2 separate regions of the Homo sapiens genome follow, and region 2 is linked to region 1. The links are contacts of gene promoters, found by promoter capture Hi-C in human tissues and cell types (Jung and others, 2019). All regions are on one chromosome and are shown on one strand. The core of a region is centred on a gene start or on the middle of the fragment in contact, and the rest is flanking DNA. Distances in the headings are between cores, read along the strand shown. Region 1 holds the start of WDR5 (WD repeat domain 5). Region 2 holds the start of UBAC1 (UBA domain containing 1).

Region 1 (3,253 bases), core at 300-2,799:
CTCACTACAACCTCCACCTTCCGGGTTCAAGTAATTCTTGCGCCTCAGCCTCCAGTTTAGCCGGGATTACAGGCGCGTACCACTACGCCCGGCCAATCTTTTGTATTTTTAGTAGAGACGGAGTTTCGCCATGTTGCCCAGGCTAGTCTCGAACTCCTGACCTCAGGCAATCCGCCCGCCTCAGCCTCCCAAAGTGCTAGGATTACAGGCGTGAGCCACCGCGCCGGGCCAAGGCTTGGCATTTTCATGAACACTCAGGTGTCTCTGTGGAACAATCCTTTTGAGAGAACAGGAAGGTTGGAGACTTGATCTTGAGGAAAGCGGGGGCCAAGGTTACGGGAACGGTGATGAATTGGCGGCCCCTAGACCAGATGCTGCCTGGCTCCTCCTAGCAGCCACTGCTTTTCATCCAGGTAAGCCTGACCACCTGAAGCCGAGCAACCAAACCTCAGTGTGCCCTCCTGGACTGCATGCCACAGGCCGATTCCTGAGTCCCTCAGTCCCTGAGGTGGAGCCCAGGAATCTGCCTGTGACATGCAGTCAGAAAAGCATACTGTGTGCAAAGACAGGAATTAATCTGCATCTTAAACACCAGCCGGGTGGCCGGCCCAACAGAGGTGGGGACCTGGCTCTCCCTATCTGAGATCCTGGACAGGCTCCCCGCCTGGGTCCTTCGCTTTCCTGTCTTCCCCACCGGCTAGGACAGCACCTGCCCAGGTCACAGATTAAACTAGCATTTGAGGAGATGGGTAAACGGACCGGGGTGAGTGGAAACTTGCAAGCGAGACAGCAGGGAGTGTCGTTAGCGATGTAACAGGCCGACCTCTGTTTGGTCCGGGAACGTAACCGCTCAAAATGGCTCTCGCAGACCGGCCAGGACAGGTCTGCGGCCCCGCGCGAGGAGGCACGGTGGGCCTACCGTTCAGGACCGAGGACCCGCACCCCAGGACCCCACCTAGCGAGCTGCAGCCTGGCTGCCTCGGGTTGGGGTGAGCGGCGGGAGCGGGCTGGGGGCGTTTCTACGAGGAGGGGAAGCGCACCTCGTCCAGGGACTGAGTGGCTTGGTGGGTCTGGGGTCCTTCCCTGAAGGGGCAGTGGAGGGAGAGGGGCGATGTGAGGCCGGGCACGCTGCCTGCGGGAAAGAGGACCCAGTGCCGGCGCTCTGGCCTTGTCAGCGGTCCGCCGGGGAGGCGGAGGTGGGGGCGCGAGTGGGGGCGGACCGGGTGGAGGGAACTGCGCGCGCGGCCGTCCACCGAGGGGCCGGGGCGGGGGTCCCGGGCGGGGCCGCTGCAGCGGGAGCAGCGCCCGGGGCTGGGCCTGGCCCGAGGCCCGGCGGGGAACACGTGCGGCGGCCGGGTGCGGTTTGGAAGCTTCTGGCGCCGCCCCGCTGCCCGCCTTGTGTTCCCCGGGCCGGGCGGCTGCCCGCTTACCTGCCGGGCCGCGGCGGCGGGGCCGGGCGCTCGGGGCGTCGCGTCGGCCGCCGCCTGGGCGGGAGCGCGGACTCAGCTCGACAAGGCGGCAGCTCGGGCGGGCGCCAGGCGGCGGGGGCGCAGTGCGCGTGCGCGAGGGGAGGGGGCGGTGTCCGGGGGGCGGGGCGAGCTCACAAAGCCGGCCTCTCGGAGGAGCGCTACGGGCAGCGACAGCGGCCAGAATGCCTCGGGCCGGCCCAACGCTTTAAAGGGACAGCACGGGGCGCGCGCTTCCCGCTTAAAAGCTTTAATCCCCGAATTTGACTGGTGCAGGCCCTTCTAATGCACTTCCTAAAAACTGAAGTATAATAATACATACAGGAAAGTGCTAGTGTGCCCTCGCGTTTCCACAGACAGCACGCCCTGTACACAGACACCAGCGGCCCTCCGGGACCTGCGCAGGTGGCGTCGCCCGGCGTTGTCTCCGGAGTCGATTCGGGCCGGGGCACCTCCCCGGGCGACCAGGCCCCTTCTTGATCATCGCTGGTACGGATGAGAGCGGCAGTGGGCATTTGGAAAGCACCTGGGGCCGCGCCCGGGCGCAGTGCCCCCATGTGGCCTCCCACCCCGGGCGGGCAGGACGATTCCTGCCCATCTGGAAGACCAGGAACCTGCGCGTTCACAGGGTTCGGAAGCCCGGGCTGCGCCTTCCCGCGGGGCCGGCTGCCGGGCTGGGGGCTCTTCCCGCCTCTGCATGCACAGAGCCCGCGGTGCACGAACCTGCTCCCCGCCAGCCCCGCGGACTGGCAGGGCCGCTCTGGAGTCACCCGCGCCCGCTCCGCAGTGCGCAAACTCACTTCGCAGCGGGCTCTCCCGGGGCCAGCCCTTCCCTCCTGGGCGGGCATTTTCACCTCCAGGTACAAGGGGGTGGTCCCCAGAGGAGGACTCAGGGGCTTAAGGAGAAGCTGAGGCCCGGTCCTCTGGCCTCAACGACTGCACATTCTCGCCGCCTGCTTCACTTCTTAGAGCCTTGGAGGTAGGCATGGCCTCCCTATCCCCTCAGCTAGGCCTGTGGGTAGAATAACATACAGTCCCTTATTCTCCAATTAAAAATGGGAACACAGAATATGACACAGGAACCCATGCAAACAAAGGGATAGAGCATTTGAAATAAAAATGCCAAGGAGGGTGAGGTGAGCGGTTGTCAGAGAGGTGGAACCGGAAGACTGGCAGTTGGTCTGGAGTCCCCTTCCCAGGAAGGACACAGAGAAGGCAAGGTCCCTGTCTGGTCCTTCAGGGCTCCATATGGATTTGTGTGCCCAAGAGGCCGGATCCCTTGGGCCAGGTGCCCTGGAGCATGGAGTGGTGACAGTCACAGGTTAGCAAACCCAGTTCGGATGAAGAAGCGCATCTTTATCTCCGTCCACCTGGCCGCCTGGGCCGGAATCCCGAGCCCGTGACACGCTGCTCTCCTTCCACCCCACCTCAGCTCTCAGATCGTCCACTTCTCTCCCTCCCCACCCCAGCCCTACCTCCCACCTGGGTCTTTTCTAAACCTCCAAACAGAGAAACTCCTAAAAATCCAGCTCTGATCTGTCACTCCCCAGTTTAAAACTCAGAACCAGCTTCCCACTGCCCTCAATTCCCTAATTCCCACTGCTCAATTCGGCTAAAGTGCTTACCAGACCCCGCCTCCTCTTCCAACCTAGCACCGGCTCCCAAACTGCAGTCCTGGTTCCAGCCCCAAAACAAAAATATTTCCAGCCCTTCAGCCCTCCAGGCAAAGCAAGATAAGGGGCGAGACCCCAGAACCCTCAGAACTCAAACCAAGTTCCCAGCTTCCA
Region 2 (3,253 bases), core at 538-3,037, 1.8 Mb before region 1:
TCTTCAAGTCATCCTTGATTTCACTCTTGGGCCCACACCCTCCAATCCTGCTGGCCTCCCCTCCCACAGGCCACTGGAAGCCCCCTTCTCCTCTTCCTCTCCCTCCGCATTGCTCCCCCGCAAGGATGCCCTGCCCTCTTCCCTGTCCCCTCCACAGTCACCACCATTCATTCTGCCACCTGGTCACACCGTTAGTGGCTCTCACAGCAACGTCTTAATGCTCTGACCCGGCTCCTCCAAGCCCTCTAGCTTCCCCCACTCTCCACTCACCACCTTGGTGTTCCTCCCCTTTCTCCTCCACCAGCTTCCACGATACTACCACCACCTCCACTGCGGTCTCTAACAGTCGGTACTTCTGCTTCCTGCGTTAAAAATGCCCCATTCCAGGACTGTATCCTGGTGTCTGGTCTTAATCACTACCATATTTTCATTGAGTAGCAGAGGCTCCCACCTGTGAGAGGCAATTAGTAAGTGCTGAACTGGACACATGGAATCTGGACGAGGTTGGAATTATCACAGGAGAAAAATGAGGATGTGTGTGCAAAATGGTGTGGACAGAATAAAAGCCTGCAGGCAGGAGGCAGAGACAGCCTCCCCGGTTAGATTGCTAACCTCTGAGAACGGGAACTGTGCCTTATTCATCTCTGCGCAGTAAAGTTTTTTTAAATGAATGGGATGAATGAGTACAGATCAGTCAATGTGTCAGGTCTAACCTGAACTACAAAATTCATATTTAGGAGCATGGTAAGTAAGACGTTATCCAGGACTGTTGAGCTAGGTACAGAGACCACTGCCAAGGGGGCTTGCAGTGGGGAGAGAGGTCAGGCTCAACTCCCAATACAGCAAGGGCAAGTGGGTGGGGTCAGTGAATGGAAAATTAATAGGAGAAAACATCAGGGATGTGGGCGGTTCTGGCTAAACCGACCTGACAGGGTTCTTGCTGAAGAGAGGCTGGAGATATCAGACAGCACCTGGGGGACGAGGAACCTGACCAGACGTCCAGGGTGATCTGATATTGAGGCTGGGAGTTCTTGCTAAACTCACTTATCAAGGCTCTTCGCTAAAACTGGATTTTACAAGGAAGTGTACAGATGATGTAGAAGGTTCAGGAGCCTGCTTAAGTTTGGCCAAGCAAAGACTCTTTGTCACACCCCACAGAAAATGAGTCTGCCTGGCATCACCTGCACCAAGGGCGGCTTCCCTCCCCTCTGGGTGCCCCGCAAACCTAGGCTTCGCAGGAACAGTGACTCTCTGATCTGCGTGTGAATTAGAAAGACCTAGGCTTGTTAAAGCCAAGTTCTTTGGAGAGCCTCCGTTCTACAGCAGTGCAGTGCAAAAGAAATATCACAGCAGCCATGTAGGCAATTTAAAATTCTATCTTAAAAAGGTTAAAAGAAACAGGTGAAATTAATTTTAATGACATATTTTTCTTAACTCAATAGATACAAAATATTATTTCAACATGTAATCAATATGAAAACATTATCGAGATGCCTTACATTCCTTTTTCCCGTTACTTCTTTGGGATCCAGCGTGTATTTTACCTTTAGAACCCATGAGGTCCCACGTGGTGAGTGCCCCGGGTGGGAACCGCCTGCAGCTCGGGGAGGAACGAAGCTACCAGAGAACTACAGCTCCCGGCATGCTCCGGGCGCGCCCCGTGACGCACTTCCTTTGCGGTGGCCACAGCGCGCCCCCGGCGGCGGGAGCGAGGCGCCTGTCCGAGAACCACATCTCCCGGCATGCGCCAGACGCGCCCGTGACGCACTTCCGGTGCGGCCGCGACGGCGCGCCCCCGGCGGCTGCTGCGGCGGCGGGAGCGAGGCGACCGCTGAGGCCGCGGAGAGTGACGGCGGCCCGGCCGACGGGAGCCGGGGCGGGGCGGCGGCCCAGCGAAGGAGCGCGCGGGCGGTCTGGCCCCGCCCCCTCCCCGCCCGCCTTCCCGGTGACCTTCAGGGGCCCGGGTGGCGGGCGCAGGCCCCTGCGGCGGCGGCGGGATGTTCGTGCAGGAGGAGAAGATCTTCGCGGGCAAGGTGCTGCGGCTGCACATCTGCGCGTCCGACGGCGCCGAGTGGCTGGAGGAGGCCACCGAGGACACCTCGGTGGAGAAGCTCAAGGAGCGCTGCCTCAAGCACGTAAGGCCGGGCCCCCTCCCCTGCCCCCAACACCCGCTCCGGACCCCTCCGACTGCGGACCCCGCCTCAGTCCCCGAACCGCCCCGACCTGGGGTCCGCCGCCCAGTCCGCAGCTCCCAGGCCCTCTCCTCCGGGGGTGGAGGCAGCGCCTCCTGCCCGTTTGCCCGACTCTCCCCCTTTCGGATCCCACACCTCTGGACGCTCGTCCCGGGCCTGGCCTTTCGGCCGGCGGACTCCGGTCACTAAGCGCTCGCCCCGTGCCAGCCGCCCGGCCGAGCCCTGTACACGCCAGCCTCTCAGTTAACTCTGCAGCCACGCAGGGAGGTAGGGGCAGATCGGGAAACTGAGGCCTGGAGAGTGAAGTCGCCGACGGAGCAGGGCCTCGGGACTTTCCGGCAGTTGTACCTTTTTGCTGTTGGGGTGAGGTTTTTTTTCAGCAGCATCTTTGAGAGCTGAGAATTAACGTAGGCTCCTTCATGAAGAGGCCCCTTCTCCTTCCTCTTCCCCTTTCCCGCAGAGCCGGCTGCTTGGAGCTCTTTTCCTGGCTGGCCCCAGGCCACTGTGCCTTTTAGCTGGAGTCCCTGAAATAGTGCCGCTGCGGGACAAGGCCCTGCGCCCCTGCTTTTCTGCAGAGGTAAAATTGGTCAAGAGAGAAGTCCCAGGAGTAGGGTCTCCTCGCGGAGACACTTTTTAAAGTTTATTCACCTGAAATACTCCTGTGTATTTAGTTCCTTAGGTTGCTGATTTTTGGAACTAGTTCTCGAGTCTCTAAAGGACTCAGTAAGGTCAGCTAAGAAGCCTGTCTGTGTGTCAGACTGACCTCCTGTCTATACCTGACATGATCTGAGGGCTTGGCAGAATTTAGGTTGAAGGAGGCTGCAATTTTCTAGTGGCGACTCCATGTGATAAGTTACGACGTATCTGTGTTGACAGGTTGAGTGCGTTACACTTGAGCTGAGTGTGGTCTCTAAGGATAAACTTCAGTTCTTACCATAGTAGCTGCTCGCATACAGTACTTTCGAGTTGCTTTTGTGAGCATGGTTCTGTGGAGTTCTGGAACTGTCAGAGGCAAGCTTGGCAAGCCCCCTTCTGGAACGCACTGGCTGTGAATAACTGGG

Evidence for each region. The method cuts DNA at HindIII sites, captures the fragments that hold promoters and counts their contacts. A contact is called where the count stands out against the background at its distance.
Region 2: a contact is called between the fragment with the promoter of UBAC1 here and the fragment with the promoter of WDR5 in region 1, in 1 of the 25 tissues and cell types used here (spleen).

The regions. Positions count from the first base shown.
Region 1 is chr9:134,134,378-134,137,630 of GRCh38, reverse strand. WDR5 (WD repeat domain 5) reads right to left here and starts at 1,549. Exons shown (of 14, transcript NM_017588.3): 1 at 1,431-1,549. WDR5-DT (WDR5 divergent transcript) reads left to right here and starts at 1,649. Exons shown (of 2, transcript NR_186420.1): 1 at 1,649-2,445. RefSeq lists enhancers at 568-1,492, 2,399-2,508 and silencers at 1,419-1,598, 2,039-2,208. The HindIII fragment of the contact is 22,361 bases long and covers 1,543-3,253 here.
Region 2 is chr9:135,959,907-135,963,159 of GRCh38, reverse strand. UBAC1 (UBA domain containing 1) reads left to right here and starts at 1,787. Exons shown (of 10, transcript NM_016172.3): 1 at 1,787-2,135. The coding sequence starts at 1,998. RefSeq lists silencers at 1,638-2,047, 2,058-2,177 and an enhancer at 1,667-2,167. The HindIII fragment of the contact is 18,279 bases long and covers 1-3,253 here.